3 separate regions of the Homo sapiens genome follow, and all the other regions are linked to region 1. The links are contacts of gene promoters, found by promoter capture Hi-C in human tissues and cell types (Jung and others, 2019). All regions are on one chromosome and are shown on one strand. The core of a region is centred on a gene start or on the middle of the fragment in contact, and the rest is flanking DNA. Distances in the headings are between cores, read along the strand shown. Region 1 holds the start of CYB561 (cytochrome b561). Region 2 overlaps STRADA (STE20 related adaptor alpha). Region 3 holds the start of CCDC47 (coiled-coil domain containing 47).

Region 1 (3,518 bases), core at 575-3,074:
AGACCAATCTTACAAAAACGAAATCTGGTCCTAAGAGCACCTTAGAAAGAGTCACACTGCTGACACATGAGGTTTGGGGCCACAGAGAGCCAGATGGCAGCCGTCTCTAATAAATCTACACTCCATTGCTGTCCACCATTAGCCCCTGCACACCAAGCAGAAGCTCCTGGGGCTGGAAGAACACAGGATGGTCTGCTTTTAATCTGTGACATTGTATATTCCCAAAATTCATTTATGAATTGTTCAGACAGTAGAGTGCTTTTTCCCAGTGAAGCTACGCTTTCAGAGGGGGTTAATTTCTCATTCCCCTCCACCAATGCCATCTAATGCCACTGAACCATCCCAGTATTAGCAGGAGCCCAAGCTCTGCCTGCCAAGGAAAAGTGGTGAGGGCAGAAAAGTAGTAGGACAAGGCTGGGCACGGTGGCTCACGTCTGTAATCCTAGCACTTTGGGATGCCAAGGCGGGCAGATCACTTGAGGTTAGGAGTTCGAGACCAGCCTGGCCAACATGGTGAAACCCCGTCTCTCCTAAAAATGCAAAAATTAGCTGCGTGTTGTGGCACACACCTGTAATCCCAGCTACTAGGGAGGCTGGAACAGGAGAATCGCTTGAACCCGGAAGATGGAGGTTGCAGTGAGCTGATATTGCCCTCTGCACTCCAGCCTCCTGGCAACAGAGCAAGACTCCATCTCAAAAAAAAAAGAAGGAAGGAAAGTAAGGAAAGCAAGAAAGCAATAAAGCAAGAAAGAAAAGGAGTGGGACAAGCAGGGTGGTTCCACCTCCAGCTCTAGGAGGCTCCCTCATGCAAGGAGGTGGGGCTGCCACCGCCTCGTATTTTCCTGCCTCCATCAAATTTCACCGGGAGAAATCCAGGCACCTAGAGGAGGTGGCAAAGCTTTTTTTTTTTTTTTTTCATTAGCTATTAAACCAAAGGGGCAGAATCTAGGCGCCCTAGATGTAACTTCATTTACGGAGTCAGAAAATCCACAAAGGCTGCCAAGGTGGAATGAATGAGAGGAGGACGACCAGAAAGGAGAAGTCTGGGAAGGGGACCCCAGATCCACACGGATGATCCTCGCTCCGTGATACAGTCGGGGACAGGGCAGGGAGGGAGGGAGGGAGGGTGGCCCTGCCATCTCCCAGGTGTCAAGGTGGCGGCAGCTCCGCCCTCAGCGCAGTTGGCACCGGCCTGACCCACCACAGGGCCACCGAGGCCACCGAAGCCATGGGGCTTTCCCACTCGGGAAACTCCCACCCTCGCGCTCAGAAGCTGGGGGCGTCGGGAGACACAGGCGGGGACCTGCGGCTCCACGTTGCAGCCCGGGCCCTGCTCGGGGCAAGAGGCGGTGGCTCCGGTTTCAGATTTCAAGAGGGCAGCCGTGGCAAAGGCTGGTTGGTCCATTTGCACCCTACCTTGCTCTAGAACGCGGCGCAGGAGCAAAGATCCAAACTCGGGGTCACCAGCAAGCGGGGGTCTCGGTTCTAACTTCAGCAGAGACCCGGCACCCGGGCAGGCCAGGGCAGGGGCCGCCTGGACCGGGAGAGGCTCGGCTCCGAGAGGGCGGGCGAGCCCTGCAGCCCTCGGGCCCAGGGTGCGGGTCGGCGCCGCAGTCCAGTGCGCGGCCGCAAGGGGCAGGTGCGAGGCCGGCTGCTACTCGGGAGCCCCGCGCTGTCCCTCCCTGCGCAGTCAGGGCTCACCTGGGCCGCCCCCGCCCCGCACCCCTGCGCGCTCCGCTCCCACCCCCAGCCCGGCCTCCTACCTTGCCTACCCGAGCGTCCCTTCAGCCTCCCCGCGCCGCGCCCGGGTCGCTTGGCCGGTTCTGCGGGCCGTGGCGCGACGGCGTCGCCATGGCAACCGGGCGGCGGGCTGGGCGGTGTCTCCGGGACCGGAAGTGGCGTACGCGGCCCCCGGGGCTGCCCCGCACGTGCCAGGTCCCCGCGGTTGCGGCCACGCTCGGGACCGGGCCCTGCCAGCTCCGGGCCCGCACGTGGGCGAACCGCGGCCACCGTGAGCCCGGCCTCGCGACCTCCCTCCGGGGCCCCCATGATCGGGGGTGCGTGGGATCTGCGGCCTGCGGGGGTGGAGGGCCGGGAGCTCCCCCGGGCCTGCCTCGAGGGCCGCGGGATTCGTCCTTGCGAGCCCCGACTGCGCACGGAAGGACCTGGGGTCGGCCAGGCCTGGGGGATGGGACGGGCCCCGAGGAGAGCGGGTGCCAGGGGCGAGACCCGCCGCCCTTCCCCGGCTTGGTCCCGCGCTTCCTGATTTTCTCGCTCCACGCCTCCCATTCTGCCCTCCACCTTCTTCCCTGCCCCGCCCTCGCCCTGCCCGGGCCCAGGAGGCCACTAGATGTCAGACCCGGTTCGGGCCTTGGCCACGCCGCCGCTCCGGGAGCCCTGGGGGCACCTCCCCAGCCCCCACGGGGGAGACGATACTGCCGGGAAGGCCCGGACTAGCCCCCGCCCCCGCAGAGTAGCCTTCGGGGAACACCGATTCCACCAGGCTCTCACGAAAGCCGAGAGCTTGCCGTCCGCAGCTTCCCCTGCCCAAAGCGCAGAGAAACGAGGGCGCCGAGGCCAAGACCAAGACCGGGAGCCAGCCCCTTCGGAGCCCGGTCCAGGCCCCCGGTCCAGGAAGTGCTGTGGGTAGATAAGGGGCCCAGCTCAGACTTCCTACAAGCTGGGAAGAAAGGGTTCTTTCCTGTCTGATGCCGGGCCAGATGTAGCAAGCGCCTAGGGGTAGGAGGGAAATGGGGTTTCCTCCCCGCAGAGGGAAACCGGCCTCCATTCAGGAACGCCCTCCCCCACCTGCCCTCCAGGCACCGAGGTTCTGGGAGGCCGGGGGGCAGGGAGACCTGCTTACTTGAATGCGCTTTGTGTATTGCCTGTGTATTGCCACAGGCAGTGGGCAAGATAGGCCCTGGGGATCCAGTACTCGCTTAGTACACAGAGAGCAGTCTCCAGCGCCAGGCGAGACGCACAGGCGTGTCAGCTGCATATGGCACACGGTGGCACATGGCACACCTTCCACGAGCAGACACAAGGGGCCGACACAGCAGGGCCCACCCCCTCAGAGGGACCAAGCTTAAACCCTCCAACAACAGAAAATTTGTAGAGTATCTTTCAGTTGGAGGAAATTAATGGATAATTTAAAGTAAGAAACAGTTTCCTTAGCGTGCTAACAGGCAGAATCCCTGTGGATTGAAGGTGGAACTGAGCCATGTCCTTTGTTTGGTCTGTGGATTTAGACGTGGAGGAGGAGTCCTGACCGGCTGAGCAGGGCTGAGTTCCCTCGTGAGAGCCCCGGGCCTTCAGCCCCTTCCAAAGCCAGGAGAGACTCCTGCTGAGGGGTGATAGGGGCCCTTTGGCTTCCCCCTCACCCCACGGCCCAGCAGCACGGGGCTGCAGGCTTTTCCCTTAGGAGGAAGAGCAGCCGCCTCCCTGCCAGCAGTGTTCTCAAGGGCCTGCTTCAAGTGGGGAGGGGTGGGTGAGGGTGTTCTGACTGAGGGAGAGGCCTG
Region 2 (3,396 bases), core at 740-3,239, 270 kb after region 1:
AAATGTTGAGAAATTATTACATGCCTCAGGTCACAAAAACATTTTCTCACATTTCCTTCTATTTAAGTCTACAGTTTCACATTTTACATAGAAGCCTTTAATCCAGCTGCAGTCCTTCTCTGTATGAGGAGTTATGTAGGGGTCCAGTTTTACCATTTTCCCTACTATGAGCTGATTTCCTGACACTATCTACTAAGCTATCTGTCTTCGCCCTGGTCTCTCAGCATAAGACTGACTCTGGGGCACAGAAAGAAGGAGGCAGAGAGTGGAGTACAAAGGTCCACATCAGATGTTCCTCTCACACAACACTCAAGACCAAGCTGCTCAGCAAAGAGAAAGTCAGTGGCTTCAGCACTAACAGGCTAAGTGACCATCTCCCAAGTCAGTGGCAAGGTCAGAATCCAGATCCTTCTCTCTTTTTTTTTTTTTTTTTTTCAGACAAGAGTCTCACTCTGCCACCCAGGCTGGAGTGCAGTGGTGTGATCTCCAGTCACTGCAACCTCCGCCTCCCAGGTTCAAGCGATTCTCCTGCCTCAGCTTGTAGTCCCAGCTACTGGGACTACAAGCATGTGCCACCACACCCGGCTAATTTTTGTATTTTTAGTAGAGACAGGGTTTCACTATGTTGGCCAGGCTGGTCTCAAACTCCTGACCTTGTGATCCACCTGCCTTGGCCTCCCAAGCGCTGTGATTACAGGCGTGAGCCATCGCGCTGGGCCCTGTTTCTTTTCAGAGCAAAGAGATCTTCAGCAAGAATCCAGATCCTTGATTTTAAACTCTGGCTTCATTAACTTCAGTCAAACTTCACTTTACCTGAAGGCTCAGGGGCATAGCTACCCACTGTAATCATGGGAAAGGCCGCCTAAGAACGCACCTGTGTACATATCCCATGTGGTGGATGTAGTCGAGGGCCTTCAGCACCCCCTGCAGGATGTAAGCAATCGCCAGCTCATTCATGCCATCCATGAAGTGTGTACAGATGAGATCTTTTGCAGAACCTGCAGAAAAGGATTGCATGGAGGCAGTGAAAGGTAATGGAGGAGGAAAACACAGGCAATCTGACAACAGAGTCCCAATAACCCCTTTCTACCAAGAACCCTTTCCCACTCACCGTATGCCATGAATGATGTGACAACCCACAGCTCATTGTCTGCAATAAAAGTGGCTCGATATGGCACGATATTGGGATGGTTGAAGAGTTTGGAGACATGCAGCTCGCCCTGGAAGCAATGATGAAGCTGAAGTCAGAACCAAATGGCACTGAAGGATGCCGCTCAACACAAAGATGGCAGCATGGACAATAGGGGGACCTGGCACTTTCTGGGTGTTCTCAGAGTCATGGGAACAGCCTAAGCAGGTGCCTGCCAACATAGGAAAAACAAGGCCCTGCTGCCTCTGCAGGGACCCAGCACTGCTTTGCCTCTGCCAGATAGGGAAACTGCCAACAACAAAGGGTGCCAGCACACCGACTCAGAGATGATGAAGGCAAACTGTTGACTGAAGACTTCTGAAGTTATAAGCTTATCTCAATTTCAAGGGCCAACGTATAGAATTCCTCTTTAAGATAAGAAAACAAAAAATATTTTGTTGTTGTTATTTGTAGAGACAAGGTCTCACTGTGTTGCCCAGGCTGGTCTCAAACTCCTGGGCTCAAGCAGTCCTTCTGCCTCAGCCTCCCAAAGTGCTAGGATTATAGGCGTGAGCCACCAAGCCACTGCACCTGGCCAAAAATGTTTTCTTTTTTATTTTTTTGAGACAGGGTCTTGCTCTGTCACCCAGGCTGGAGTGCAGTGGTGTGATCCCGTCTCACTGCAGCCTGAACTTCCCAGGCTCAAGTCATCCTCCCACCTCAGCCTCGCTGGTAGCTGCGACCACAGGTGGACGTCAACATACCTAGCTAATTTTTTATATTTTTTTGTAGAGACAGGGTTTTGCCATGTTGCCTAGGCCTGCTTTGGCCTCCCAAAGTGCTGGGATTGCAGGCGTGAGCCACTGTGCCCAGCCCAAAACTATGTTTCTATTATAAAAGAAAACATGGCCGGGCATGGTGGCTCACGCCTGTAATCCCAGCACTTTGGGAGGCGAGGCAGGCAGATCACTTGAGCCCAAGAGTTGGAGACCAGCCTGGGCAACATGGCGAAACCCCATCTATATGAAACATACAAAAAATTAGTTGAGCATGGTGGTGCATGCCTTTAGTCCCAGCTACTCGGGAAGCTTAAGTGGTAGAATCACCTGTGCCTGAGCAGTTGAGGCTGTGGTGAGCTGTGATTGCACCACCGCACTCCAGCCTGAGCAACAGAGCCAGACCTTGTCTCAAATAAAGAAAAAAAAAAGAAAAAGAAAACACAGTTGATGGAGGAGAAGGCCAGCTGAGACTGGCTTCTGCTCCATCCTCAGACCCACCAAACTACTATGAACAGATGAACAGGTCCTAGAGCACCATCAGGTAACCACCAATTCAGAAAAAGTTGTAAATGAAGGAGGGGAGGGGCTGCAACTAACTCTACTGAAGGAAAACTGCCCCAGGCCCTGACTCTAAGCTGGCATCAGGAAAGGAGAGTCTAACTCCCAAGCACTTACTAGACTCACAGTCTCTCTCCGTTTTGTTTTGTTTTATTTTTTGAGCCAGGGACTCAGTCTGTCACCCAGGCTGGAGTTTGGTAGTGCAATCTCAAACTCCCGGGCTCAAGCAATCTCCCTGCCTTGCCCTCCCAAAGTGTTGGGATTACAGGCATGAGCTACCATGCCTGCCCCCTCTCTCAGTTTAACGAGAGAGTGGCTACTTGCTTCTCGAATAGAAAGGAATGTCAGGACTGGGCATAGTGGCTCACACCTGTAATCCTAGCATTTTGGGAGACTGAGGTGAGTTGATTGCTCGAGCTCAGGAGTTTGAGACCAGCCTGGGCAAGATGGTGAAACTCTGTCTCTACAAAAAATACAAAAATTAGTCAGGTGTGGTGTGCCTATAGTCCCAGCTACTTGGGGGGCTGAGGCAGGAGAATCATTTGAGCCCAGGAGGTTAAGGCTGCAGTAAGCCGTGGTCCTGCCACTGTACTCCAGCCAGGGCAATAAAATGAGACCCTGTCTCGAAAAAAAAGAGGCCAGATGCGGTGGCTCACATTTGTAATCACAGCACTTTGGGAGACCAAGGCAGGCAGATCACCTGAAGTCAGGAGTTTGAGACCAGCCTGGCCAACATGAAGAAACCCCGTCTTTTCTAAAAATACAAAAGTTAGCCGGGCATGGTGGTGTGCGCCTATAGTCCCAGCTACTCGGGAGGCTAAGGCAGGAGAATCGCTTGAACCTGGGAGGTGGGGGTTGCAGTGAGCCGAGATCGTGCCACTGCACTCCAGCCTGGGTGACAGAGTGAGAATCCGTCTCAAAAAAAAAAAA
Region 3 (3,376 bases), core at 17-2,516, 330 kb after region 1:
GCAAGCTCCGCCTCCCGGGTTCACGCCATTCTTCTGCCTCAGCCTCCCAAGTAGCTGGGACTACAGGCGCTCGCCACCACGCAGGGCTAATTTTTTGTATTTTTAGTAGAGACGGGGTTTCACTGTGTTAGCCAGGATGGTCTCGATCTCCTGACCTCGTGATCCACCCGTCTCGGCCTCCCAAAGTGCTGGGATTACAGACGTGGGCCACCGCGCCCAGCCTCCTTTTCAAATCCTACTCTTAAAACTTTTTTTTCATATAGAAGCAACTAAAAGTTAACACCGGAACAGTCAACTCGATTAACAGCCTGCCAAAAGATCCGATCATTTCAAATTGAATTTCCAATTAGAATATTCACACCATAGAAACACTTCTGAGATAACTCAGCACTATAATGGAGATCCTTCAAGGTTATTTAGGTTACAATCATCCAAGCCATTTTTACCTTGGTTTTCCCTCTTAGAAGTCTCCGCTGCACCTGTCAGTTCTCAAATGCACAAGTCCTTGCCAGACCACCCAGCCTCTATGACTCCTGAAGCAAGCAACACAGGACCAAGGAAAATTCACACAAGCGCTAACAAGTCTGGTTTGATTATTTTCTGCAAGCTCATCCAATAGTTCCTCAGCGACTGAGTCTAGACTTGAGGAAAGAGGACTGAGTGAGGCCATCATTCCTTGTTGTCATTTTAGATTAGGTCTTCCTGACAACGGCCAAAACGAGTATTCTGGAAATCATGCAGACTTTCCTCTGTCTCTTTATATGTGTTGGATACAAACACGTTTCATTTTAGAAACCTCCAGAAGAGACTGGCCACAGAGGTTTTTGCTTCTATTAAACCCCTTTGCCTAGTTTCTCCCCACCCAAGAGAATCAATACATCCTAATGTCATCCTCCGGCACACACTGTACATTTCCTCTAACTCTGCCCTTTTGGCTATCATTTGCTCACAGCTCCGTGGGAAAGTTCCCCCAAACCATTACAATTATCTCAACCGGACCGGGCTACAGGCCAAGCAACTCGGAGTCACCGCTCGGCCTGGCCCGGCCACGCCGACGAGCGCGTCCTGGCCCGCTCCTTACCTGTGGCCGAAGCCGAAACCCGGCCCAGCGCCCTGCGTCCGACACCCCTGCCCGGCCTGCCTCTCGGCCTGGCCGCCGCCTCCGCGATCGCAGCGGTTTTACTGCCCCGGATGCCTCTAGGACGCAGCCAGAACCGTAGCTCAGTCACGCCGCGCCTCTCTTCACGTAGCCTCCGCCGTCCGTTACGTAGAATGCGAGCGGCTCGTCAGCGCCTGCGCGCAGCCTGCGGGGCGGGACGCAACCCCGGGGAAAGCGCGAGACCTCCCTCTCTCCCGCCCGGCTGAGGCGAGGTGGGGCTTTTGGGAAAATTACATAATCCCCGCCCCTGGGCCGGAACTGCCCTCGCCTATCCCAATCCTCCTACCTAGGATTCCGTCAAGTTGACGTCACACGGAACCGGTGCTCCGGAAGCTAAAGGTGGCCATGCTGTGTGGGACCACGTGGCCAGAGGCAAGAGTGTCGCTCTAGTAGTATATGCAACAGTTTAAACTATAGGCATGTTCATGTAAATATGGTTTCTGTCCAACCCGTTTTCTCTTGGGATTTTTGGCTAGCCCCTTGACGCCACTTTTTCTTCATTCGCAGACCCACTTTCTAGATGGGTCATGAACACTGTCCACCCAACTGCAGTTTCCCGTCAGAGTATCTGAGGAGCCTGTGAGGCGTTCTGGAGCTTTAAGGTCAGGCGCCTTCCGGGAGCCGTAGCCCCGGCCCCGCCCTTCTGCCCGCGCGTTCCTCACTGCGCATGTCGCGTTTTTGTTCCCCTCCCCCCTTCAGCAACGGGCCGTGAGGCGGTGGCGGTGGTGGCGGTGGCGGCGGCGGTGGTGGTGGTGGCGGCGGCGGCGGCGAAGGGGGCGGAGAGGAAGGAGCGCGGCGGGACCGGGCCGGGACAGCGCGTACTTTGGGCTCCGGGATTCGCTCCGCGCCCGCGGTTGTAGCAGCTGCCGCTGCAGCCATAGCAGCAGGTTTGTGCGTGGGGTTTCTGGACGCAAGGCCGCCAGTCCTTGGGGGCACTGGAGGCAACTGCTGGGCCTAGCGAGGGCGGAGGAACCGCGGCCTCGCTTAACAAAGAGTCGGCAGAGCCTCGGGGCACCGGCGGCCGGGGTGCCGGGAAGGGGTGGGAGTGGGGGCTGAGGCCTCTAGGGTTCCTTCCTAGCCGCGTCGCCCTCCCACAGCTCCCGCTTCCCTCACAAGTCTTACCGAGGCCCAGTTGGCGGCTTTCCGGAGGCGGCGCCCCCTCGCCTAGGAAAAGGATTTGCAGGGTGCCCGGCTCCAGGGCAGGAATAGCGCGGGGAGAATTCTGACCCAAGGAGGCAGCGCTTGGGAGATGCAGGCCTCCGAATTTGGGGTCCTGAGAGGCAAAAGCTGCCAAATGAGAGGAGTGAAAAGATATAGGCGATGATCTTTGTGCAGCGTTGAGTAGGTCGATTATTAGCATCACTGTAGTCACACAAACTTTTTTGCGGCCTACTTGAGAGCGTATCTGATGTGAATAAATAATTTACATGGAATTGCAAACATATGCATCAAAAACAGGAGAAGCTGTCGAGAGTTTTGGGGAATTACATTCTCATCACTGAGAATTTCCCTCTTGCCCCCACTCCTATAGGCAGTTATCCAATTTCTTGTGGCTTCCCTGTGTTTTCTTTTTGTCAATGATGTTTCTATGTCTGTCCTCTCTCGTATACACACCCAGGACTTCCTCAAGCGCAGGGACTATGTCTTAAGGCGCTTTGCAGAGCCAAGCTCATTTCTGGCACATAAGAGGTGAGCAATGAGTGTTTCGTACAAAAATTAATGTTTATATTTTGACAGCTGGGAAAAGAAAATATATCTTCCTGTACCTGGAAGAAGCATTGTGTAGCCTAATGTGCAATTCGTTCATTCAAGGGGTATTTTTATTGGTGCCTATTCTCTAGCGCCGTTCTAGGTGATAGGGATAGGTGTTAGACCCCTGCCTTTGGGGAACTTAACTTTCTAGTAGCGGGAGGAGAGGCAAACAGATACATATATTATACTGAATGTTAGAAGATGATCAGTATCTTAGGGAAAAGAAAGCTGGAAAGGGGGTTGGGGAGGTGGTGGTGTTGGAATTTGCAATAAAGTGGTCAGGGAAGTCCATACAGACAAGCTGATATTTAAGCGGACTAGAAGGTGGAGTGAGAGCCTACGTTTATCTGGGGAAAGGAACGTTCCAAGCTAGAGAATAACAAACATAAAAGCCTTGAGGAGGACAAAGCTGGCCCGTTAAGAGTGTGAAGACCAACGCGTTTGGAGCACTGTGAGCTGAGGGAG

Evidence for each region. Contacts are between HindIII fragments. The study calls those that stand out against the background at their distance.
Region 2: a fragment that was not itself captured here is called in contact with the fragment with the promoter of CYB561 in region 1 in 1 of the 25 tissues and cell types used here (aorta).
Region 3: a contact is called between the fragment with the promoter of CCDC47 here and the fragment with the promoter of CYB561 in region 1, in 1 of the 25 tissues and cell types used here (bladder).

The regions. Positions count from the first base shown.
Region 1 is chr17:63,444,482-63,447,999 of GRCh38, forward strand. It overlaps CYB561 (cytochrome b561), which reads right to left and starts at 1,825. Exons shown (of 6, transcript NM_001915.4): 1 at 1,764-1,825. RefSeq lists silencers at 1,522-2,081, 2,252-2,441 and enhancers at 2,411-3,224, 2,582-2,721, 3,225-3,518. The HindIII fragment of the contact is 15,609 bases long and covers 1-3,518 here.
Region 2 is chr17:63,709,617-63,713,012 of GRCh38, forward strand. STRADA (STE20 related adaptor alpha) reads right to left here. Exons shown (of 13, transcript NM_001003787.4): 7 at 1,112-1,220; 8 at 875-998. Among named protein-coding and RNA genes, the nearest start is that of LIMD2, 11 kb to the left of the region's middle. RefSeq lists a silencer at 713-1,007. The HindIII fragment of the contact is 3,518 bases long and covers 231-3,396 here.
Region 3 is chr17:63,772,331-63,775,706 of GRCh38, forward strand. It overlaps CCDC47 (coiled-coil domain containing 47), which reads right to left and starts at 1,267. Exons shown (of 13, transcript NM_020198.3): 1 at 1,082-1,267. DDX42 (DEAD-box helicase 42) reads left to right here and starts at 1,840. Exons shown (of 18, transcript NM_203499.3): 1 at 1,840-2,046. RefSeq lists enhancers at 1,142-1,726, 1,439-1,748 and a silencer at 1,879-2,168. The HindIII fragment of the contact is 13,143 bases long and covers 1-3,376 here.